4 separate regions of the Homo sapiens genome follow, and regions 1, 2 and 4 are each linked to region 3. Evidence: promoter capture Hi-C in 16 types of primary human blood cells and fetal thymus (Javierre and others, 2016). All regions are on one chromosome and are shown on one strand. The core of a region is centred on a gene start or on the middle of the fragment in contact, and the rest is flanking DNA. Distances in the headings are between cores, read along the strand shown.

Region 1 (6,017 bases), core at 1,531-4,030, 6.3 Mb after region 3:
TTTGAGATCCATGTTAATTATTTATGTGGTCCAAAAAATGTTGAAGTAAAGAATTTAATTAAAAATAGTCACAGGCCAGTAGTGTGTCCAGGAAACTGGCTGACATAAATGCAAATCAAGTGTGAAGGGATGCAGCTTCAGCTCAGACTCCAAATAATAACCCCAGATAAAGTTGCAAGGTATATGAGCTCACAGTCAAAAATCGTAAACACACAAGGAAACATGTATCATTAGAATCAACAAGAGAAATTATATAGGATAATCAACTCCCAAAGACTTCAGATATAAAATTAAACAATGAATATAAAATAACTATGTTTACTATGTCTAAAATAAAAAAGGTAGGTTTAAAAAGATGATTAAAGAAGGCCGGACACAGTGGCTCATGCCTGTAATCCCAGCACTTTGGGAGGCCGAGGCAGGAGGATCACGAGGTCAAGAGATTAAGACCATCCTGGCCAACAGGTGAAACCCCATCTCTACTAAAAATACAAAAATTGACTGAATGTGGTAGCGCGCACTCTGTAGTCCCACTACTCGGGAGGCTGAGGCAGGAGAATCGCTTGAACCCAGGAGGCGGAGGTTGCAATGAGCCAAGATTGCACTACTGCACACTCCAGCCTGGTGACAGAGAGACTCTGTCTCAAAAAAAAAAAAAAAAAAAAAAAAAAGGATTAAAGACTAAAAAAATCTGGGATGCTGAGGTGGGCAGATCATCCGAGGTCAGGAGTTTGAGACCAACCTGGCCTATATGGCAAAACCCCATCTCTACCAAAAATACAAAAAATTAGCCAGGAGTGGTGGCACACACATGTAGTCCCAGCTACTCAGGAGGCTGAGGCAGGAGAATCGCTTGAACCTGGGAGGTGGAGGTTGCAGTGAGCCGAGATCGCACCACTGCGCTCCAGCCTGGGTGACACAGTGAGACTCCATCTAAAAAATAAAATAAAATAAAAAATAAAAAATTATAAAAATGAATAATCATGTTTAAACAAAAGTGAAATAGACCATCTAGAACTTAAAATGTAATTGAAATTAAAAGCTCTGTAGATGAATTAAACATCCTTCATAGACACAGTTGAAGACAGAAGTAATGAGCTGGAGGATCAATACCAGTAAATTACCCAGAGCTCAACACAAAGAGAAAAAATATGAATGAAGCATGAGACCTAGTCTAGTTAGACTTTTAGAAGAAGATAATAGGAAGCCAAAGGGTAATATTTGAAGAGAGAATGGCTGAGAGTTTTTCAGAATTGTTGGAAAGCACTACTTCTTACATCTGGAAAACTCAGTGGATCCCAAAGGGGATAAATACACAGAGAAATCCCAACTGTACCCATCATAATGAAACAGCAAAACACTCCAGTTAAAAAGATCTGAAAAATAACAGAGGGGGAAAAAAAAAAAACCAAGTTACCTGCAAAGAACTAAAGATTAGACTAATAGATTTCTTAGGAGCCACAATAGTAGTCAGAAGATAGTAGAATATCTTCAATAGTGGAGAGAAAAATAACATCAATTTAGAATTGTGACATTGTTTCACCCAGTGAAACAATTCCTAGGGGACCTGGGAGAAAATAAATGCATTTTCTGACAAACAAAAACCTAAGTCATTTGCCAATAAACTCTGAATGGAGGAAATTCCTCAGAATATGTTTTTGGAGGAACAGAGAATACCTCAGCTGGAAAGCTCAAAACACAAGAAGGAATGTCAACAAAAATATGGAAAATATATAGGTAAATCTAAGAAAAAGTATGACTTGCATAAAACAATAATATTGATAATGACTGATTTGTGAGGTATAAACCATATGTTAAAACTAAGATTCAGGACAAAAACATTATATAAATTGGGAGGAGCATGATTAGAATGAAAGAATCCTTCAGGTTTTATTTAAGATGGAGGGTGTGGTAAGTGGTGTGCAAACAGGCTCCCCTGGCTCCAATGAGCCACACATCCTGTCACTTACGCCTTTGTGTAGTCTGTTCTCACAAAGAATCATGGCTCGCCTTATGCAGCCAATGGAAAGCAGCAGAAGTGAGACTCTATTTGACTTCAAGTCTAAGTCATAAGAAGTCTTGCAACTTCCACTGGGTCTCCGGAAGTGCTCCTTCTCAGAACCCAGTGCCACACTGATGAAAGCTCCAGTCACATGTTTCCCTGTGGGTGCTTCATTTGACAGCCTCTGCTGAGCTCCCCGCTAGCAACTGCCACCAGCTGCCAACCATGCAAGTAAGCCGTCTTAGACACTGAGTCTTCAGATGGCTTTAGCCACTGCTGCCATTTGATAGCCTGAGATACCGTGCAAAAACTGCTTAGTTCAACCCAGGCAGCCCACAGAACCATGAGAGATAATAATTGCTACTTAAAGCCACTGAGGTTTGGGGTGGTTTATTACACATCAGTTGATAACTGGAACAGATAATAAAGACTGTTAGGAATATATATTAACATGGTTAAGATCATCATTAAAAGAACAGGTGTAGAGATGATAACTTCTGATCTATAGAGGGAAAAATGGAATGAGAAATTTAAAATGAACCCTGAATCTAAAAGAGGACAAGACAGGAGGAGGAAAAAAGAAACAAAAAGCATAGAATGTATTAAAATTACAGAATAAGAAAATAAATTTTACTATATCAGCAATCATAATAAATGCATCTGGACAAAAATCTTCCATTAAAAGATTAAGAATGGCAGATTGGCTCAAAACAAAACAGTCATATTCTATTTGTGAGACATACCTCATATATAAAGTCACAGAAATATTTAAAGTCAAAGTATCAGGAAAAAAGATATGCCACCCAAAATCTCACCCAAAATAAGGGCTAGTATTGCTATATCAACAGCAGACAGTGTATAGTTCAGGACAAAAAGCTCCCTACAGATAAAGAGGGTCACTATATAATGATAAAACTGTTGTTGGGAGAGCTATGACAGCTTTAAACTTATATGCTTCTAACAACACAGTTCTAAAATAGATAAAAGTGAAAATCACAGGTAGAGCACTGGAGACTCTCCCGCCTCCCTGTGTTCCCCATGCCTTTTTGTGCCATTCTCCCTGCTGTAGTCCCCATGTTTTCTATCTTTGTTGAGCCTGTGATTCCCCTGACAGAATGTAATGGAAGTGGGGCTGTCCTGGTCCCAGGCCCAAGCGTTAAGATGGCCTGGCAGCAGGGCTGGCCCAGGAGAGGCACGCAGGGTATCCTGGGTACTCACTCCCAGCTAGGGCCCCTGCATGAACCTGAGAGTGAACACCTCCTTCCATTTTTGAACCCTGGGTCCCTCTGGCCTCACCCTAGTTCGAGCCTTTGCTGGGAGCTTTCAGTTTTGTGATCTTGGGAGCCTTGCACTACCATGTAAAAAGTCTGGCTACTCTACTGGACATACCACCCAGAGAGGCCATATCGTAAGAGAGAAGTGTGTGCCTACATGGAGGAGAATTGAGGAGCCCAGCCTCCAGCAAGAAGGAAGGCCCCATGTCACTCTTCCAGGCACACCCCAGCCCCTTTGGGCCACCCTCACTGAGGCACAAGACACATGAGGGAAAAAAACCGTCTTGGAGGTTCTTGCCCCAACAGATACCCCTACTGTACCCTGTCTGAATCTCTCACCCATAGAATCATGAGCAAATAAAACAGAGTAGCCACTAAATTTGGGATAATCTGTTATGCAGAAATAGTTGAACAAAATAGCAGGTCTTAGAGGGAACTTATAACCTTAAATGCTTATAACAGAAGAGAAGAAAGGCCTGAAATAAAGTTCAGAGTTTACCTCTAAGAGCAAGAACAGTCGAATCAACTCAAGGAAAACAGAAAATAAAGGACAAGAGCGCATATTAATGAAACAGGAAACAAGCATCTGGTAGAGGATAAACAAAGCCAAAAGTTTGTTCTTTAAAAAGCCTAAAGAAAAAAAAAATCTGACAAGATTAATCAGGAAAAAAAGAAAAACTTTCAAAGTAATGTGAAAAGGACATAATCACAAATGTTGCTGAGGTTAAGCAGGTAATAAAAGGGCATTATAGATCCACAATCCTTTAACTAAATCCCTCGTGACTAGTTGTGTTTCAGAAAGCAGAATTTAAAAAATTAGTTTCTTCCATTGATGAAATATTATTGAATTCCACCCACAAGGGCTGGAGAGATTTTCCATAATTACACACGTTAGGATATCTGTGGTAAAAATGTAAGAATATTTTATATATGGGATCAAGACTGTAGAGTAACCTCCTGTCACTTCAAGTCCAATTTTGCTGCTTCCAGTTTTTAGGGCTTTATGGATTTAAAGGGATTGGGGACCTGTATAAAAAAACTGCATGCCAATAAATTTGAAAATATGGGGTCCCAGAAAAGTTTCTTAAAATCAACTTAAGAAATGATAGAAACCCATTAAATTGAATCGTTAGTTTTAAATCCTCCCGCCAATAAAATGGTCGGCACAAGTGCCTTTATAAGCAGTCCTACCAAAGATTCAGGGATTGGGTATGTCCCAAATAAATACAAGTTCTTGGAAGCAGAAAGATGGAGAATACTTTTTAGCTCACTTTATGAGGCTAGCATAATGTTGATATCAAAATAAGACAAAGACAGTACAAGAAAGGAAAGTTAACGGCCAATCTCACATAGAAAGAGAAATGAAATTAATGTTCATGCCTTGCTCATGAACATGGATGTAAAAATTCAAAAAAAAATTGGAAAGGAATCTAATGATGAACTAAAAAGATATGATTATGATTAACTGATCATGGTATTCATGATTGGCTTAATACTAGAAAATTGATTAGTCTAATTCATCAAATTAACAAAGGAGAAAATCTAATAATCTCAATAAACAGAGACAAAATCATTCGATAAAATGCAATATTCTTAGTAATAATTCTTAACCTAATAAGAATATAAGATGACTCTCATATGTATACAAACCTTTAACAAACACCATATGTAATGATAAAATATTAAAAGAATCCCTGTATAGTAAATGAGGATGCCTGTTGTCATGAGATCCTAGCTATTGCAGTAAGGGAAAGAAAAAGCAATAAAATGTACTAGGATTTGAAAGGAAGAAACGAAATTGTCATTTTTTGCAGGTAATATATTCTCTACTTAGCAAATGGAAAGGAATGTGAATTAGAATGAATATAGAAGTTCAAAATTGCTGGCTATGAAGTCATTGAATAAAAACCCATTGCATTTTTATATACTAACAATGAACAGAAAACATTTTTCTATTTACACCCATGCCAAAGAATATAAAGTACCTAGTATAAAACTGACAAAATAACTCTAAGCTCATTATGGGGTAAATTGTCAACTATTGAAAGACATTAAGGAAAGCCTAAATAGAGTAACCGCCCCCCACCCCGCCTTATCTGAGGGGAATATATTCCAAGACCCCCAGTGGATGTCTGAAACTGAGGATGGTACCACATCCGATTGTTATCAGTCAGAACACATTTTTGTTCATGCCTTCCACCCACAAATGTAACGGCTTTTCCATCGTAACTAAGCATTTGCTATGCACTGTGACCATAACTTTTGTAGTTTGAAGTGCGACAGGAGAACTAACAGGAATTTCTTTTTCCATTTTCACAATTTCACGGATTAAAGATTTCTTCTTACCCTAGATCTTAGCAAGCTCAGCATACAATTTATTTTTTCCTCATTAAGTTGAGAATTTTCACCTTTTTGTGTAAAGGAAGCCTTTTACGGCTTCTTTTCAGCATGTCTGAATTACCAGCGTCACTACTCTTGCACTTTGAACCAAAGCACTGTGATGCAGTGACAGTCGATCTGGTAACAGAAGGCAGTTACCAGATCTAATACTAAGTGACTCATGGGCAGCAGCATCTACAGTGTGGATCTGCTGGACAGTTCCTGGGCAGGACGGGCTGGGATGGCACGTAATTTCATCTTGCTACTCAGAATGGCATGCAATTATAAATTTATAGATTGTTTATTTCTGGAATTTTCCATTTAGTATTTTCTAACTGCTGTTGACTGCAATTAACTATGAA
Region 2 (6,831 bases), core at 2,762-5,261, 6.9 Mb after region 3:
ACCCAGTCTCAGGTATGTCTTTATTAGCAGAGTGAGAACAGACTACTACAAATCTCCTTAAAGATGCCCCTATTTTTATGACATTCTTAATTATCTCTTTTGTTCTCTGAAATCCTATAATGGATTCTACCATATACCTGACCATCTAATTACATAACACACCATAAATTTACTATTATTTTGTATCTATTCTTCTCACTACATCAATGCCAGTTCTATATCCTAATTTAGGACTCATAGTAAGCACTCAACTTTTAATTAGAATCTGGCCAGGCATGGTGGCTTATGCCTGTAAGCCCAGCACTTTGGGAGGCTGAAGTGGGAGGATCGTTTGAGTCTGTGAGCTCAAGACCAGCCTGGGCAACATGGCAAAACCCCGTCTTCTACAAAAAATACAAAAATCTGGCCGGACATGGTGGCTCACACCTGTAATCCCAGCTCTTTGGGAGGCCGAGTCGGGCAGATCACCTGAAGCCAGGAGTTCAAGACCAGCCTGGCCAACACGGTGAACCCCTGTCTCTACTAAAAATACAAAAATTAGCCAGGCATGGTGGTACACACCTGTAATCCCAGCCACTCAGGAGGCTGAGGCATGAGAATTGCTTGAGCCCAGGAGGCGGAGGTTGCAGTGAGCCAAGACGGCACCACTGCACTCCAGCGTGGGTAACAGAGTGAGACTCCATCTCAAAAAAAAAAAATACAAAAATGAGCCTAGTGTGGTGGTACATGCCTGTAGCCCCAGCTACTCCAGGGGCTGAGGTGGGAGATTACTCGAGCCAGGGAGGCCAAGGCTGCAGCAGTTGAGGCAAGGTCAAACTACTGTACTCCAACGTGGACAACAGAGCAAAGATCCTGTTAAAAAAAAGACATGGAATCTTTGCTGGAGCAATATGGTAATACACAGGGTTTTTTGGTTTTTGTTTTGTCAACAGTGTAGGAAGAACTGGAAGTCACAGGACCTAACAGCTCTTCGTTCTTCCTCTAACATAAGTAAACCGTCTGCTACATGGCTTGATACGTGTCAAGCCTGCCTGTGCCTCAGCTTACCCCTCTGTAAAATAAAGTTAATCATACCAGACCAGTCTATAGCCAGGTGAAAGTATCTACATCCAAATTGGAGTTATTACCATGATACTAAGAAATACTCTACTTCCACAGCTAATTTTATGTTTCTCACCCAGTTGTTTTAAATACAGACTACTTTTTAGGAAAAGAGAACAAATTCATCACTATTATCAAAAATAAGAAAGACGGAGAAAAATTACCTATCAAAATACTGGTCCTATCCTATTAATGGTGGGAGATATGTAATGGGAAAGAAACTGTTAAAGGCCTACTTCAAGCTGAAGTCATTTATTCATCATACTCACAATAATCCTTTAAAAAGCAAACATTACCATACCCATTTTACAGAGCAAAGAAACCGAGGTTCAGAGACAGGCTACGTAACTAGCTCAAGTCATGAAGCTGCAGGCGGCAGGGACAGGCTGCAAATACCCAAGTAAGTGGCATAATCTTTGCATACTTAAAAAAAAACTTTATTATCACTTGAAGATAAAATATATGAAAAGCAAAAGTGTTATATAAATACACACATAAAAATACAATAGTAATTACTATTCATTTCCTTCAAATAGTTTCCTTAATCTTGGCTTAATTCCTAACTTTCAGTTCAAGAGGCCTTTGTTTTCTAAGTAGACTTTTTTTCGAGTAGCAATGAAATAGAATATGTGATTAGGTAGGAACTAGTGCATTACGTACTACTTTTTAAGTCTTTAATAAATCACAGGAGCAAGTGAAAGTTTACATTAAATATTATGACTAGAATTCCTCAGACACATTTTACAAAAATCTAGTCCCTACAAAGATCACAGTAATAAACAAAGCAAACTGGGCCACTCCACTAGTAAGTATATCAACAAAAAACATACACCTAAGGAAATATAAAAGAACCTCTCCATGTTACAAAACTGAGGTCATGATGAGTTCAGTGAAATGATAAAAGAAAGTTCCCTAAAATAAGACCTACACCTTAGAGTGAAACTACAATTTTACAAACTTGAAAAGAATCAACTTTCTCAGAATGGGAACAATGTACTGTGTGCTAAGAAATAACCTGATCTAGGTTTACTTGATTCTGCCTTTATAAAATGTAGCCAACTTAATCTTGCAGACCTGGACAGAACAAAAATTTAAACGCTAAAGCACAGAAAAAGGCTCAAAGTATCAAACGCTTTAAAACACAGCTCAACTCTCCTTTATCAAAAATGTCCCTGCAGTAGGTGTTAATCAGTCACTACCAGGAACTCCACACAATGCAACCTGTGTATTGTGCAACCTGTGCGTGCATGGTATCTACAGGAAGTAGAAAATTCAGTTTACCAAGAACGCCACACTTCACTCTCCACACTTCACTCTCAAAAGTCTTGAAAACGAATCCCTGTAACAGCAACTAATTTACATTTCATTTCAAACTGAACAAGTCAGTGTAACCTCAAGGTATGTGAGATTGTGAATAACTTCACTTGGCAAAATCAGGTGTGGTTTGGTTTGGCTTGGGTTCTTCTCCCCCTCAGAGGTAGAATATAAATAGAAATAATCAGCAACTTCTGATCTCATGAACAAGATCTTTATTTAAAATCTTCACACGTTAAATCATTTTATGCAATATTCTTTCAAGTGACAGACACATTAGCACTAGGCGATTTTTGTGAATTTTGGGACTAAAAGACACCTGGAAGAAACATAAGGTGTTCTTTCCTTCGCCACCAAATACACAGGTAAGTGTGTCTATAGATAGCAAAGGTGTTTTCATCCCAAAGAAAAGTTAAGACTTAGGATGTAAAAAAATACAGAAAACAAAACATAGCCTAGGCGAACCAGCTACAGATCACATGCAGCAGGTGACAGGAAGCCTTGTGGACACCTCACACCCACAGGGGCGAGCTTCATCACAGGTCAACTCCAAGCCCACCTGAGCTCCTCAGAACCTCCACCTGGCAGGCCATAAACCAGAAGGTGGCAGACAGCATCACTGTCATGCCGGTAATAAAGGAGAAGCAGCCTCCCTGAACCCAAGAAAACCACCCCTCTCTCCAAGCAGGAAGAGAAGGCCCCTTCACACCAAGGACACAAAGAAACTGAAGCAGCCAGACCCAAAATAAAAATTAAATTTAAAAAGCAGCATGGGAAGACAGATGACAAATCTGTGCTGGGATCGCCTGGAATCTCGGTCTATATGGGGGTCTCACACTCAAAAGTAAAAATAAAATTTAAAAGGGGGATGACAGAGATGAGAGCCCAATTAGGTCTGTGCTGGGTTCACTTGGGGTCTCGGTCTACTTAGGGTCTCAGACTCAAAAATAAAATTTTAAAAATGAAAGGGGGAGGTGACAGTTCAATGTGTGCACGTGATGACCACTTGGGATCCAGTTCACTTGCTGGGAGGACAGGGGACAGGTACCTCTGTGCCCGGCCTCCAGGTTCTCCGGGAGCGCAGGCGCCCAGCGAGAATCTGGGCTAAGTTTAACTCGAGGGCGACGGGAGCAGTGCCCGAGGGCCAGGCTGCGGCTTTCTGGAAACAAAGCCCCGGGGGTCCAAGCCCAGATCCAGGGAAGGGGGTCGGACGCCCACCCATCCCCCTCCCCAGCCTCCCAGCCACCGACCCCTGCACAGAGGAGCGCCCTCCCGGCAGGTGCCCCTAACCCGGCGCCCCGACCCCCGCGCCCGGCGCGCGCCTCACCCAGCAGCGCCCGCAGGTGCTTCAGGCGGGTCAGCACGTCCTTCTTCGGGTCCAGCACCTTCTGGGTGGACTTCTTCACATCCCCGTGGCTCCTTCGGGAGAACATCCCGCGGCAGGAAGCCCGGGCCCCGCCGGCGGGGCAGTAGGCGCCTGCGCCACGCGAATCAAAGCATAGGGTCGAGGCCGGCGCGTGTCGCGCGGGCCACTCGCCGCCCCCAGCCCCGCTGCTGCCGCCGCCGCCGCCGCCGCCGCCGCCTCAGCTGTGTCTCCAGGAAGGAGGGGCGGGCCGGTCACGGCGAGGGGCGGGGCAGGAAGGCGGTGTCGACGGGGAACCGAAGGCCCCGCCCCGCGGGAGGTGCCGGCCGGCCCCTTGGGCGCTACGCACGCGCACACAGGCCGAACTCTCCTGGCGGGACACTAGCCCGTCCGCGCCAAAACCTAGCGGGGACGCGCTCAGAGGGCCGAGAAGGCGCCTCGAATCACAAAGGAGCTTCTCTCACGCACACGTTGTACTACAAGTCCCGAGATGCACCGCGAGACAGTCCTCCAATCAGGCTGGCGGTCTTCGGCACGATGGGAGTCAGTGGGCCGGCATTGGGCACGTCGCCCCGCCCTGCCGCGGGCCGCAAGTGCTCCTGGGAAATGAAGTTCTCCAGCAGGCGACGCGCTGCGACCTCTTTTCCAGGGTCGCAGAAGCGCAGGGCGGCCTCTGTCCGTCCCCTGCCCCGGCAGCCTAGATCGCCCGTGGTTTCACTCTCCCTCCTGCGCGCCCACCCCATTTTCCTCTAGTGCAACGTGAACCACACACGCCCAAAAATCTCAGTAAGAAAAGTGTCAAGGCTTTTCAAATGCAAACTATTTTTAGGTTTAGCTTCTGGATTCACACAAGGGAGCGAGTCGAAGCCCCTCTGACCGTGCCGAAATCGCAGCTCTAATTTCACACTAAAATGAGTTGCTTTGGCACTAGGGAAGAGCGTGCCCCGGTGAGGAGTTCAGCCGGCCCCTAGGTTCCTGGAACCCAACCTCACTTGGGGTATGGAGGTCGCTCGCTCAGAGGGCTCCTTGGGATCTTGCCTCTTTGTAGGAAGGGTGCGTTCTCTGTTGTGCAAGCCACATGGCGATCCAGTAGCAGAACCAGAAATAGAACCTGAGGGATCTGACTCAGGCCTGTATACTTTTTAAAGCCAGGCGCTTATTCCCTGGGGCAAGACTTTGAGCTGAAAGATGGTCAGGAGATTTCTTACACTGTAGGATTGTATAGTGGCATCCGAATCCTGCAAGTTTTGACATCCTTTCAGCTTTTTCAGCAAGTACTTAAGGTAGAATCACGTGGTTTCCATCCAAATTGGGACAACACAACTGTCTTTTTCTCCTCTAGCTGAACTGTAACTTGAGGGAAGAGACAAGGATTTACACGCCTTTGTATCCCCATCCCTCAGCACAGTATTTGGCCCATAGGGTCACTCAATAAAAGTTTATTAAATGAAATACAATAAAAAGCTAAAGTAGTCCTACATATTTCAACCAGGCAGGCGAAAAGGAAAAAATAAATAAATAAACTCACAGTTTTAGAGCGTCTCTCTATTTTTAGATTTGTGTAATATTCCTTTGTATAGACACATTCATACAAAGGAATATTACTCAGCAATAAAAAAGAACAGACTACTGATAAACCCAATAACATGGATCACTCTCAGACCCGGAGATGAAAGCCCCATGCTCAAGATGATGGCAGAGCGGCCCTACCAGCCTGAGTCCCCAGATGATAACAGATCAGGACCACAAACTTCTAAAAGTGTAACAAGAGAGCAAAATAATGTCTTATCTTAAGTCAAGGCATTTTGAGAGTCTTCGTTACAGCAATTGAGCTTGTACCTGATTACACATAGTAAACCACAATGTTCACTGTCCAATTCCTTTAGGAGAAGATACTTTTCCTTACACTGATTGAAAAAATAGAATATACTTGTCTTAGGAAACTCCATTTTTTTAATTGCAAAGCAAGCTGCCATCATCATCAAACATTTATTGAGCACCTGCAATGTGTAAGGCATGATTCTAAACCCTGGAGATAAAAGATGTATAAGGTGCATCCTCCTGACCTCCAATGCTTCCAATCCAGTTAAGGAGGCTGAGCGATTAGATACATGTGGGAATAAATGACAGTGTACAGTGAACATGTGATACTATCAAGCTTGGTAATGCCAGAAACAGGCATCTGTGCATATAAATTCATCGCACCCATCATATCTAGCCTTTACCCAGTAATGAAAATGTAGAACTCCAATTCTTCTCTTAAAAAGGAAGAAACATATAGTATTATTATGTTGGTACTTTTTCACCCACTTGCATATTCCATATGGCTCTTCTTATTTTCTGTTGTTCTTTCTAAACTCGTTCCTGCTGGGCTGTGAACTCTTTGAGGGCTTCACTTGCTTTGCACTGAATTCTTTATCCCTGGAGTTATAGAGTGCCGAGTGTTATGCAGACATTAAGTGTTGTTGAATAAATGTCCTACAGTAATCAGCAAATAAGAATAATGAGATCAAAAGTTTAAAACTTGCAATGCAAATTAAAACTACTCTGAAATATCATTTGAATTAGAAAAAACAAGCAAACAAAAAACCTCTACAGAGACAAGGTGTGATAACACACTCTAGTCTGGTGGCAGAGCTATAGAAAACATAGCTGGTAGAAATGTTAGATGCTACAACTCTTATGGAAGGAAATTTGGCAAAAATAAATATTTGCCTTTTGACCCAGAATTTCAATTTCTTTTTTTCTTTTTTCTTTTTCTTTTTTTTTTTTTTTTTTTTGAGATGAAGTCTGGCTCTGTCACCCAGGCTGGAGTGCAGTGGAGCTATCTCGCCAGGTCCAAACGATTCTCCTGCCTCAGCCTCCCGATTAGCCGGGATTACAGGCGTGCGCAACCACGACTGGCTAATTTTTTTGTATTTTTAGTGGAGAGGGGGTTTTGTCATGTTGGCCAGGCTGGTCTTGAACATCTGACCTCAGGTGATCCATGGGCTTTGGCCTCCCATGTTTTGTTGTTTTTTTTTTTTTTTGACAGTCTTGCTCTGTCCCCCAGG
Region 3 (6,825 bases), core at 4,292-6,791:
ACAACCATATCCCTAAATTTCTTTTCTTTAATTTAAATACTAATTTGTTTAAAATAACTGGTCATATCGTTATTTTGGAACCTATTTTTAAAACTTCATAGATCACAGATGTTTGCATATATTTAATTAATCTCTTAATGATTTGTTACCATTTTAATTTCTATTTTCATTTTTTGAGACAAGGTCTTGCTCTGTTGCCCAGGCTGGAGTGCAGTGGCACGATCTTGGCTCACTGCAACCTCTACCTCCTGGGTTCAAGTGATTCTCGTGCCTCAGCCTCCCAAGTAGCTGGGATTACAGGTGTGCACCACTATGCCCAGCTAATTTTTGTATTTTTAGTAGAGACCGGGTTTTGCCATGTTGGCTAGGCTGGTCTCAAACTCCTGACCTCAAGCAATCCACCCGCCTCGGTCTCCCAAAGTGCTGGGATTATAAAGGTGAGCCACTGTGCCCAGCCAGTTACCGTTTTATTTTAAAAATAATGCTGCAATGCACATTCTTTGCACACATCCAATTATTTATGTAAAATAGATTCTGAGGAGTGCAAGTGCTGGGCATGAACATTTCATGATGACAAATATCACACTGCAAGTCCTCACATCACCTTTACTTCACAGCACTTAAAAAGGCCCTTGCACACAGTAATTGCTGTAATAACTGATGAATGGATAATGAACAGAAGATTATATATGGAGCCGTGTAATCCTTATTTATGAGTAATGCCTTTCCTAGACTGTGGAACCAACAAAATTACTGCAAGCAATGTGGTGGGGTAGAAGGAGTCAGAAGACTTGAGTTGCAGTTCCAGGTCTGCATGTCCTTACATAAGTCACTTTAATCTTGTTCGCTGATACAGTCTTATTGCTCAAGGTAACTAAGAAAATTAAATGAGAAAAGATATGTAAAAAAGTCTGTAAAATCAATCTAAAGGATTATATAGCTATGTTATATTAATTCAGTGCCCCAAATGAAGTGGATGCTAGACTAACTTACCTCACTAATTCAGTGTCAAATCAACTTTGCTGCCGGTCCCACTCCAATCTTATTCTTCAATTTTAGTAACCGGATTCCTATCCTTTCTTCCCACACCTCAAGAGGTCTGCTGCCTGGTTCCACTACAAATGTAAAATGGGATACCACCACTGACTCCCTAGTCCTTGCTATCCAGAATTCACTCCACTGCCTGATACCTTCTACCCTCACAGTGTGATCTCTGCTTATCAAGACCTCTTGGCCTATCAAAACCTCTTGGCCTATCAAGAACTCTTGGGCTATCAAGACCTCTTGGCCTATCAAGACCTCTCGGCCTATCAAGACCCCTCCTTGGATCCTGTAATCACAGGTCTGGCTCATGTGAACTACTACTGGTTTTCAGTTACATCTTCAACTATCAGCAACATCAACACTCAAAATTGCTTGCTGCTGGAGGTGACAAAAAATTTTAATTAGTAAACACGTAATGCAAACTAGAGCCAGCTGTCTCTCACCTAGTTCCAAACAATCATTTCTCGCTGCTACTCATTTTGGCCCTTCAAGACCTTATTATCTAATCAAACGGGACTACTGACCTCTTCTGAACATGCCCAATCACATCTTTGCTCAAAAAGTTCTTTCCATGTAGCACACTCTGGTCCTCAAACTTAAATTTTTCCACACCCCAAAGTAGTGCGTCCCCTATGAATTTTTCTGATTACCACATCTTGAGTGACTTCTTCCTCCAGATTTCCATGGCTTTCTGCTAAACATCTTTTACGGCACTTACTATTATTGCATTTTGTATTATGGTTCTGACTTTCTTCTACTTTAGATCTATATTGTCCAATATGGTAGCCAGTAGTCACATGTGGTAACGGAGCACTTGAAATGCGTTTTGTCTAACTTGACATTAATATGAAAATAGTATTAGTATGAAATGAGTAGAAAATGGGATGTAAAATATACATTGACTTTTATATTGATTACATATTGAAATAATTTTGATATATTGGGTTACATAAAATATATTATTTAAAATAATTTTACCTGTTTCATCTTACTTTTTAATGTGGTTACTAGAAAATCCAAAATTATGTATTTCTACTAGACAATGTTGCTTTAGACAGGGGCCACTGCACAAAGTTTAGCAGGCTGTTATCCGCACAGGGGCATTTATAAAAGGACAAGAAGGGCTAAAATCAAGGCCATCCTACACTCACCAAGCCATGCACTCTGGAGGGGGCTGTGTCTGCTCAGGGGCAAAAAATCTGTTGCTTCAAAGGCGCCATCTCTTCACCAAAGTGTGACCCCTGGGAGCTCTGTGTGTCCAGAGAGCATGCCTTTTTCTAATTTGCATAAAGGCATCATATAAGCTAGCGACAGCCCTGAGATGGGTGACGACGCCTTACTCATATTCTGCCTGCCACATACTAGTGGCAAAGCAACTGAACAAATTAATGAATGAGTACTCAACTCTACTTACCCTCTTATTTTATTTTTGAGACGGAGTCCTACTTACCCTATTTATTTTATTTTACTTTTGAGACAGAGTCTCGCTCTGTCAGCCAGTCTGGAGTGCAGTGGTGCAATCTCAGCTTATTGCAACCTCCACCTCCCAGGTTCAAGCAATTCTCCTGCCTCAGCCTCCCGAATAGCTGGGACTACAGGTGTGCGCCACCATGCCTGGCTATTTTTTTTTATTTTTAGTAGAGATGGGGTTTCACCATGTTGGCCAGGCTGGTCTTGAACTCCTGACCTCAAGTGATCTGCCCGCCTTGGCCTGCCAAAGTGCTGGGATTACAGGCGTGAGCCACCATGTCCGGCCTACTTACCCTCTTTAGACACATCTCTTCTTATCATGTGATGACATATAACACTTTATCTGGTTAGAGAATATAGTTCTCATTAGGGCTCACCACTAATCAAAATCACTGTTTAACTTCAAGATTCAAATTTTCATGTCTGTCTTCTAGCACCACATCAAAAATTAATAATCACTGCATATTTCTTTTATAGCTTTGTATTTCCAGATAAGCATTTGACCATTCCATAATACTATGAAAATACTTATTAATGTGTTTACATTTTTGAAAGATCAGTATAAAAATAAATAATGTAACACCCAAGAATCTCTAATTTTTTCCAACCTACCTGATTGCATTTCTCTTCTTGTCTTAGAACACTCGATTCTGGGAGATTTCACAATTTCAGAGGTGCCTGAGTCTAATGTCCTTTGTTTTTCTTCGAGAGAAGAGTCTGTAGTATGTTGAACAATGTTTTTTTTCTCTTTCTTATTTTTTTGTGTAAATTCTTTGCTATCCTTCTTCGGACTTATGTTTGAATCTATCTTAAATTTACATGAGGTTTTCATTTTTTTAATTCCTATAGAATTATCTAAATCAGTTTTATTTTCAGAACCCTTGTGATTAGCCTTCTTGGTTTCTTTCTTTTTCTCAACTAGATTTTTTGAATCGATTTCTTTTTTAGTCTGGGTTTTTTTCTTCTTTATTTTCTTTTGACTCAATGCTTTGCTATCTTCACCAGAGAGATTGGAATCAGAATCTGAAAGGTCGTAAAAACGCTTCAAATCCTCTGTAGTGCTATGGCTAATGGGGCGCCCTCTTTTATCCACGGCATAGTTCAACTTGAACTTCTTGTCATGAAACATGGCTCGAAATCTCTTGTCAATTTTGACTTTTCGATCCTTTTCTGGCATTTCCCAAAATCTCGGGTCCTTTGCAACCCGTCTAAACCGCTGGTCACTCATTATTTCTTGTTTGGATGACATTTTTAATTCTTAATCTCGACCAAATGCTTGAAGAAAACAAATACTGAAAAATAAAACAAATGTTTTAATGGTAATAATGGTTAGTACAATAATTAAATGTTTTAAAACACATTCACAATATATTCTAAGTTAATATATTCTAAGTTAAGTGTACATAAAATAGAGGTAACAAGTCTAATTTCATCTCTCCAACGTATTCTGGGTCACATGCAAAAAAGCAGAAACATACCAAAATATCCTCTTTCCATGACAGATCATTTAGAGAAATAAACTTAAGGTAGACAAAGCAGAATCCCAGGGCTTTATGGAGGGGAACAAATGTTTATTCATCCATTGCTCTCACTTAGAATTTCTATTTGTATACCAGTATGTGTTACTAATTGAAGGCAAATGTAGTTAAGATTCCCTAGGCCGAGTGCGGTGGCTCACCAGCACTTTCGGAGGCCAAGGCGGGCGGATCACTTGAGCCCAGGAGTTCAGGACCAGCCTGGGTAACATGGTGAATCCCCACAAGAAATACAAAAATGAGCCCGGCATGGTGGCGCGCGCCTGTAGTCCCAGCTACTTTGGAGGCTAAGGCAAGAGGATCACTTCCACCCGGGAGGTCTTGGCTAGAGTGAGCCTAACGGCACTACAGCACACCAGCTGGGGCAACAGAGTGAGACCCTGTCTACCAAAAAAAAGTAAGAAAGAAAGATTCCCTAGCCTCCGTTGGCCTCATTTGTTTCTTCACATTCTGGTCTCATTCTGCTTACTCCTTATCTCCGGCTACTGCCAACAAACAGCCTTTAGTTCTGTAAGACTAGCATTCTAACTAAACAGACCAAAATCAACTCAGGTTTAGCTAAGAAAGTTTCCTTTTTAAATTCGATCATCCTTCAAAAGTAATAAAAAGTTTAAAAATAAAAAGTAAATTTGAGTCTCCAGGTAAAGTCTCACACCAGTTAATAAATATCACTTCTTTCTATAATATCTGATTCTACCAGTGATGAAGGCCCAAGTGAGCTCATTCCCCCAAAACATACTAGAACATATACATATGTGTGTATAAATTAATATTGTTCCCTTGTGAAAAGTCTCCAATGGTTTAGCATCTCTGGATGGGAATTTTGCAAAGAGCCAAAAGTCGTTGATTATTAAGCAACCCCCCCCCAAAATGATTAAAAGGGCAATATTTCTTATTTAAAAATCAAGTCCTTTTAATTACACTAACTAGGAAAAAAAAGGAAGCTATCGCTGGTGCATTTACACATTTTTCGATGTATTACAGCACTTAACTCTCTGAGCAATCTTACGAGGTAGGTACCACCTCAACCAGGAGAAGTACTGCATGTATTGTAAATGTTTAGAAGGAAAGCACTCATTATATGTCAGATAATCCGAGAGAGGGGAAGGCGACCGGACCTCACTCCCGACACGCGCCCGCATCCCCGTAGCCCACCCTCCCCTTCTGCCCGCTCTCTAATTCGGAGAACACAGGGCTGGCCCCTGAACTAGGGTCTCCTTTCCACCTCCTGTACCGCAGGGGGGCAGCTAACAGACTGATTCGAGAAGCGACCCTGAAAAGGATCGATGAAGACTGAAGAATGAGACCGAAAAAGGCTCAGGAGGAAGGGGCAAAACCCCTCGCAGATCCGAAAGAGATCCTGTTAGAGACTAGTTTTTTCCCCGCGCCACACACACACACGCCCTCAAGCCCTTCATCTCGAGCTCTTCAACTCCAGTCCATCCCCACTCACCGTCCGCAGTCCTACCAAGCCTCACGTGGGGCTCACACCCACAATCCTCCGCGTGACGCTCCGCCGTAATGGCAAGCGAACTAGGCCAAACTACTTGCACGTTCCCTCGAGAAGATCTTTGGAGTAGACACAAAAGCCGCGCTGGCGCATGCGCACAAAAAGCGCCGGCAATTGGGGTCGCAGCTGGAGATGCTGCGGCCGGCAGGGCTCTGGCGCTTATGTCGGCGACCTTGGGCGGCGAGGGTCCCAGCGGAGAATCTTGGCCGTAGGGAAGTCACCTCTGGTGTCTCTCCCCGCGGTAGCACCTCGCCCAGAACCCTGAATATTTTCGACCGGGATTTGAAAAGGAAACAGAAGAACTGGGCAGCCCGGCAGCCCGAGCCGACCAAATTTGACTACCTGAAGGAGGAGGTGAGCCCGCGGGGCGGCGGGGCGGCGGGGCGGGCGACGCGGAGGCTTGTTTTCCTCTCCGCTAGTTCCGGCTAGGCCCCGAGCTCACCCCACCTAGCCGTCTGACCTTGACCAGCAGCCCTGCCTCTTTCGGCCTCTACTGTAATCACGCAAGGCCTGGCCTCGGATATTTGTAACATGCTTTCATTCATTCATGCATTCATTTCGGCAACGTCCTTGAGGCTGAAAGGACCTTATAGAGGCCTCCAGTGAAGCTCCGGAGAGGGAGAGAGTGGGAGAGAAGGTTAGGAGGACCCAAATCATCAGGGCCTTGCAGGATAGGGACTTGGGGTTTTCTTCTGTATCTGCACTGTCCAGCCAGTATGGTAACTGCCGGCCACACATGTGGCTGTTGAACACTTGAAAGGTGACTAGTCCAATTGAGATGTGTTGTAAAATACACACGAGTATAGTGACTTAGTATGAAAAAAGGATGTAAAATAGCTCATTAAGAGCTTTTATATTGATTACATGTTGCAGTGATTATTTTTGATATATTGGGTCACATGAAATATATTAAATATAAATTTAAATTTTTCAATTAAAATTTCTCTCGTTTTTACTTTTTTTCTTATGTGGCTACTAGAAAATTTGAAATTACATATGTGGCTCTCATGATTTTTGGTCAGCACTGCTCTAGGGGAATGTGAAGCTCTTGTTTTAATCAGTGGAGTGATCTGACTTATGTTTTAGGAAGATCAAATTAAGATTTCTGATTTGTCTTGGCTCGTTTGAGAAACCTTTCTCCCTGCCCAGGTGAGCCAGAGACTGAGGGTTTCTACTTTCAGGACACGCATTCTCAAGTTCAGGCCTCAGTAAATTTTTATTCAGGAGTGGAACAAAGTTGGAGTCAAGTATAATGCAACAAACAGT
Region 4 (6,225 bases), core at 2,513-5,012, 5.8 Mb before region 3:
CTGCCAAACAGACAAAGCAGGTATAGAGATGTGCTTAAGACCACTCAGAGCAAGAACACAGATGGAGGTATTTCTTTGATAAAAATCGTCAAGGAATATAAAACTTCAACATTCAGAGGGAGAAAGAAGTTATAAGAAAGTAACAAGAATAAGGAAGTTATCTTGAAGTATAATATAATATAATGAACTTCAGATCCTCTTTATTTCCCTAGGACGCTCTTTGCATATAAATCACAGGCACATTTGCTGCATCAGTAATTATGTTTCATAATTTAAAAAATACAGGACTTAATCTCTAGATAGGCTATTACTAAGTTGGTTTTTGGTGAAACTGACCTTCAGATATACAATTATAATGCATCCTCGGATATGCCACTGAGGTAATTTTAGATATGCCATTTCTACATAGCTGCTATACACTGGTCTGTGGCATTGTTAATGCCATTATTTCACAGATTTAATCACAGCTGATTTGTGTTGGAATGCACCCAGATGTTCTTTCAGTGGTAGAGATAAGCCAGCTCTGAGTCTTTAGCATGGGAACTGGTCCATTGTTGCTGCAGTTTTTAAAGTTTTTAATATTCTTTTGTATCTAAAGAACAGTAATTTGTATAAGAATTTAGAAACTAAGTAAAATATCTCCAGGGACAAAATGAATGCAAGGATCAGTCATGTGACCTTCATGCTCCTCTCTCACTCTGTGTACACATAGATACATATATATATAATTTATGTATATATGCATAAATTAAACACATCAGAAATAATTGAACATGATCTTCATTAAATTTATTTCAAACTAGTTCACACTGGCAATCTTCTCCTAAGAACTATAAAAGATATGACCTGCCATAACTTTGTCTCTTACACATAATCCTTAAGAGCCTCCAAGAGCAATTAGCTCCATTATAGTCATTTAAACTGTAAATTGTTATCTTTTCTACTGAACTTTTGTTGACTTGTTTGCAGGTCACAGTGGTATGTAAAATTAGTAAACTTCATAAACATATTTGAAATATATTCCAGATAGCCAAAAAGCTCTGGTAAATTACACCAACTTACATGTCAGTGCAATGTTTTTAACCATTTCTGGGAAACAAAATTCAACAGCATGTTTTTGTTGTCCACGTTTTTTGTTCAACAGAATGTTTTTGTTGTCCATGTTGTCCGTGTTTTGTTGATGGAACGAGGTTGAAGGACCTTGAATCTTTTATTCCATGAACTTACTGAATTTGGTTTAAGATTTCATTAGGTGTGCTAAATATTTCAGAGAAGGACTTACTTATATTTATTTCCTAGAAAGGAAATTTTATTAACGATAAATTTTTATTTACCAATAATGAACAACTCTTCTTCTGTCTTGACTCTAATTTCACCAGTGTTTCTCAGTACACTCTCTTTTCTCCTGACTTTTTCTTATCTTTGCAGAAATGAGACAGTCAATAACAGATCCAGTCAATTTTCACTTAGTAGAACTTTGATCAAAATGCTCAGAATACTCAGCAACAATGAAGAGGAAAGAGGTATACTAGGTTCATCTTTCTATGACTTAATAAAGGAAACTAAATCAAAGTGTCAACAAAAGATGCCTTAACTACATCAAGTGTTATTCTTCCTTTTGGCAAATGTGGAATGACCCATGAATTGAAAGCCTTATGCTCAAATTTATTTCTTTGGACAATAATTTCTAGAACGTGTTATCACAAAAGGTAGAGGAAACATAAAAACTGGCAGCTCTATGAAAATCATGACACCTGCTAGAGAAAGTGGAATTCATGACTTTCACTAGAATTAACACTCCACGAAAGCAGTGACTGCTGCATGACTTGCACCACAGAACAGAACCTGGAAGGTCCTAGGCCACCACAATAAATATTCCATCAGTGAACAAATGGGAGATGATAGTAATTATCCTTAAGACTTCAGAAAATATATAAAGATGTCTCCTTCAGTGATATGCTTGAAGAAGTGCCTGATAAAAGAGCAATTAATCTATTATTCACTCATTTACCTAGTCACAAAGTATTTTTTGAACACAAACTACTTGTTAGTTATTAAAGCTTTGGAGATAAACAGGGAAGGAAAAAAATAACCTTGTTCCTTTACTTAAAAGCTTATAATAGAGGTAGTCAAAGAAAGACCTAGTACAAAAGCATATCAATAAATGTGTAATTACTGGTTGTGATAGGACCATGCAAGACACAACCAAAGCATAGTGAGAAAGAATTTTCCTGGGGCATTGCGATGATGGGAAGGCAGGGCACCTGTTTAAGTGGTGAACAGTGTCAGGAATGAGTATACAGTAAAAATGTTCTTTACTTGCAGAAACTAGAGAGATGGTAAAAGCTTGGATGGGCCTTAGAATCCAGCACGAACAAGGCCTACCCTCATGTGAGTCAGGGTGCTGGCTAGCTGAGGGCCAAAGCAAGAGTCAACCAGGCCCTGTGCCTTCCTCCAGGCTCCCCAGGAGAACTGGGAACTGCAGATCAGAAACTGCAAAGCTCAGGCCTGCATTATAGTTATGGCCTTGCTCCCCACTTACTAAGGATCTGGCATTAGCCAGCTTCTTTTTTTCTTTTTTTTTTTTTTATCTCCACTAGTCAGTAAGAATGGGAATAATACCGCACTAGATTGCTGGAATGATCAAATAAAACAGTTAGTTGGAACATGTGATGTAAGCCATGTAACTATGAACTGTGATTGTGATGATGAGGAAGTGGAGGAGGTGGATGGAAGTGGTAAGGATGACAAGTTTTAATGAGGCTTTAAACCCTTTGTGGAAACCATCTAAAATCAAACATTCGCATGTTTTTAAATACCCATAACAGTATCTAGAGCAGTGGTTTTCAATTAGAAGCATTTGGAAGTATGCACAGGGAATGGGAGTTACAATTTTTTGATGTCGCATGACTGAGACTACTACTAGAATATAATGGGCAAGTATGCCAAAGGTTCTGCAACACGTGGGCCATTCCCACACACCAAAGAACTGTCCACCCAAAATGCCAATAGTGTCCTGTTGGGAAGCACTGATGAATGTCCAACACAGAGGAAGCATTCATTAAACATTTACTAAATAAATGAACATAACTTATACTACATATTTCCTTCAGAGCACAATCTCTTGGAAGGCTCATTCTTCTTCACCTTCCCAGCTCCCCAACACTGAACCTGACACACAAGCATTTAGTGAGTTGTCTCTCAAACATTCCATCAAGACATCAAGACAATCTATTAAACTGCAAGAAATTCTAACTTGACATGGGCAAGTTAAGGTAATGATGTTCAACACATTCTCTCCAGGTATAAAGGAAGGCTGGAAAGATAATACTAAAACCTAGATGTCCTATGGAAATAAACAAAGCTTTGCTCCATCACCAGGTGTTTAATTTAAATTTTGAAACATGATCATTCCAAAAACAAAAATAAGAAAAGGCAATAATTTATAAAGATTTATATGCTTTACAGAGGTAAACTAACCCAAAGACATACTTTTCTTCTGAGTATCAGCTTGAATGTCAAAATTAAGCCACTTGGCTATCTATTTCTTCTGGGGGAAAAAGCCACCAGAATGTATCATATTACATACTTCCATGTTTCAAAAGAACAAAAGTCATTTTCTCCAGGACTGACATAATGAGAGCCAAGCAAATGTTGAAAGTAGCAAAAGGTTGCAAAGGAACTGAATGAAGAATAGTATAAAACAATGGCAATAGAGAAAAGCATGCATCATACAGTAGTTTAAAGATTAGATCATTTTTCCTAATTCAGAAAAAGGGCAAACGAGTATACAATAAGCCCATAGCCGGGTGCCTGTATTCCCAGCTACTTGGGAGGCTGAGGCAGGAGAATTGCTTGAGCCCGGGAGGCAGAGGGTACACTGAGCTGAAATCGCACCACTGCGCTCCAGCCTGGGCGACAAAGTGAGACTCCATCTAAAAAATAATAATAACAACAATAAGCCCATAGCATTAAAGAAAATGTATGTAGCAATGGGAGAACTTTTCAGATTTCTAAAATCATCAGAATAGAAACGGTGAATTACTGCAAATATACTTTTAACTCATACATTTTTAAAACACTGGAAATTCAATTGCAAGAATCCAAAAAATTGACTGTTTGAAAGACTAAGAAAAAATAACCAAATTTAATTTCATAATAGAAGCTTTTCATGTCTCAGGGCTGCCAAATACTGCTAGATTCTTAAGAATAAATTATCTATACCAATATAACCAGAAACTGCATTAGAGGGGATCTGTATGACGTGGCGTATAAAAGAAAAAATTCCCAGATGAAAGAGCGCATATAAGCAAATGAACAAATAAAGAACTCTCATTCAAAGTAATGAATACATTTTGATATCGGAAAGCTTCTCAATCTGTGTCTTTAAAGAAGTTAACTACAACAAAAGCTTCTCAATCTGTTTCTTTAAAGAAGTTAACTACAACATCTTTGAACTACTAACAATTTCCATTTATGTATGACCAGCTCATCTGAACTAAGTGTCAAGATGAAGCTAATTTTAATGCATTTTGTTTTTCTCTGTTATATACATAAAAAAAAAAATCTGGTAACGTATAGGCTATTTAAATGAATTCTTAGAAATTCATAGCAGGCCTCTAGTGGTATGGAGGATATAATGAATTTTATATTTTTTTAAGTACTGGAGTTTTTTTCACAGCAAGGAGGAGGAGTATCACCTGATAATACAGAAAAAAATAGATCACAAATAGATAAGAACCAAAATATTTCTTCAGGATGAGCACTTGGGTTTTAGTGCGTATAAAGAAGTTGGATGGAATGGTTTGGATCAATTTTCATTGACAGCCTTGCTTCCTAGCCACCTATTCTGAAGTGCACTCGATAAAAAGAGAATGTCTACTAAAATGACCTTGTGTCTACACAGCTTACTTCCAGATTACAAGACTCATCTGGCATCACAGGCCAAGCATATTCCATACAACTGGACACATGACAAACTCAGAGCAATTGATTACTATGTTTAGGTTTATACATTCATAAAAAAGTAAAATTTGAACCATCAACATGGCCAAGCACAGATGTTGTTGGCTCTCCCTCAAAAACTTATTGAGGCTTTAGTGTTCTTAATTCTATTACCAAAAAAAAAGCAATTCCAAAAGGAACCATAGAGGAGTTGAAGTCATTAAAAATGAGGAGGCCTTTCTGTTTTAACTTTTCTTACATACATATGCAAACTCAGTTTTACCCTGAAAGATGACATCTAGGAAAAAGTCCATTTTGTAAGCACCTACTGAAAAGAGAACTTTCTGTAGTATTGGCTGACAAAATGCAGTTTATCCCAAACTCTTAAAATTATTACAAACATGGAAGTCTTAACACAGCTCCACTTATTTTAAAAGTTTCTCAAATAGAATATGACCCCCTCACCTTCTTCCAAAAATAGTTAAGTGGAATATTTTAATAATTCATGTCTACAGTTCCCTTTAATAATTTCATTGATTTATTATGATACCAAGGGTATTTCATTTGGAGGTCTAAAATATCCCCTTCTTTGTGACTAAGAGGTAAATGCACATTTGAAGGGGTGATATGCCTTATGTTCTTCGAGCAATGTAATCTGCTGTGTGACATAAATTTTGGCTCTGATCTCACACTGAGGTTTTCACTCCATAGGCACCTGCTTGCAATTTAAATTGAAAGAATCAAAACTTGGTCTTGGATAAAGGAAAGATCCAATTTTCTGTCTGTGTCCTCAACGTAAAACAAAGATTCAATAGTAGTATACAGATTGCCAGAAACCACAGGCTAAAGAGATGTGGCAATTTCCTGAAAGATTTTATGTTTGGGGGGTGGGGGCGGGAGGGGGGCAGGTAGGGTGGAAAGGAGTTGTGGGAGGGGAGAGAGAGACAGAGAGAGAGAGAGAGAGAGAGGAGGGAGAGAGAGAGAGAGAGAGGAGAGAGAGGAGAGAGAGAGAGAGGGAGGGAGGGAGGGAGAGAGAGAGAGAGAGAAGAGAGAGAGGAGAGAGAGAGAGAGGGGGAGGGAGGGAGGGAGGGAGGGAGGGAGGGGGAGAGAGAGAGAGAGAGAGAGAGAGAGAGAGAGAGAGAGAGAGAGAGTCTGCAAGCCCACCATGATGGTCTCTCAAGCCCGCTCAGACATCTGCCCACCATCCACTGCAAGCCTCTTTCAAATGGTCACTTCCTATTATAAGGTTAAACTATAATCAACAAATCCCTTTCTTTCTCC

Evidence for each region. The method cuts DNA at HindIII sites, captures the fragments that hold promoters and counts their contacts. A CHiCAGO score of 5 or more calls a contact.
Region 1: a fragment that was not itself captured here is called in contact with the fragment with the promoter of ESF1 in region 3 in 1 of 17 cell types (naive CD8 T cells); the score reaches 5.9 in naive CD8 T cells.
Region 2: the fragment with the promoter of RALGAPA2 here is called in contact with the fragment with the promoter of ESF1 in region 3 in 1 of 17 cell types (naive CD8 T cells); the score reaches 6.2 in naive CD8 T cells.
Region 4: a fragment that was not itself captured here is called in contact with the fragment with the promoter of ESF1 in region 3 in 1 of 17 cell types (naive CD8 T cells); the score reaches 5.7 in naive CD8 T cells.

Annotation. Positions count from the first base shown.
Region 1 is chr20:20,058,682-20,064,698 of GRCh38, forward strand. The region is part of intron 2 of CFAP61 (cilia and flagella associated protein 61); the gene reads left to right. Among named protein-coding and RNA genes, the nearest start is that of CFAP61, 9.2 kb to the left of the region's middle. The HindIII fragment of the contact is 6,753 bases long and covers 1-6,017 here.
Region 2 is chr20:20,708,633-20,715,463 of GRCh38, forward strand. It overlaps RALGAPA2 (Ral GTPase activating protein catalytic subunit alpha 2), which reads right to left and starts at 4,012. Exons shown (of 40, transcript NM_020343.4): 1 at 3,743-4,012. The coding sequence starts at 3,848. RefSeq lists a silencer at 3,903-4,162 and enhancers at 4,154-4,448, 4,273-4,472. The HindIII fragment of the contact is 11,955 bases long and covers 1-5,934 here.
Region 3 is chr20:13,779,378-13,786,202 of GRCh38, forward strand. It overlaps ESF1 (ESF1 nucleolar pre-rRNA processing protein), which reads right to left and starts at 5,542. Exons shown (of 14, transcript NM_001276380.2): 1 at 5,503-5,542; 2 at 3,127-3,806. The coding sequence starts at 3,763. It overlaps NDUFAF5 (NADH:ubiquinone oxidoreductase complex assembly factor 5), which reads left to right and starts at 5,651. Exons shown (of 11, transcript NM_024120.5): 1 at 5,651-5,913. The coding sequence starts at 5,692. RefSeq lists enhancers at 5,587-5,876, 5,872-6,561. The HindIII fragment of the contact is 9,427 bases long and covers 1-6,825 here.
Region 4 is chr20:8,012,434-8,018,658 of GRCh38, forward strand. The region is part of intron 1 of TMX4 (thioredoxin related transmembrane protein 4); the gene reads right to left. Among named protein-coding and RNA genes, the nearest start is that of TMX4, 4.2 kb to the right of the region's middle. The HindIII fragment of the contact is 801 bases long and covers 3,363-4,163 here.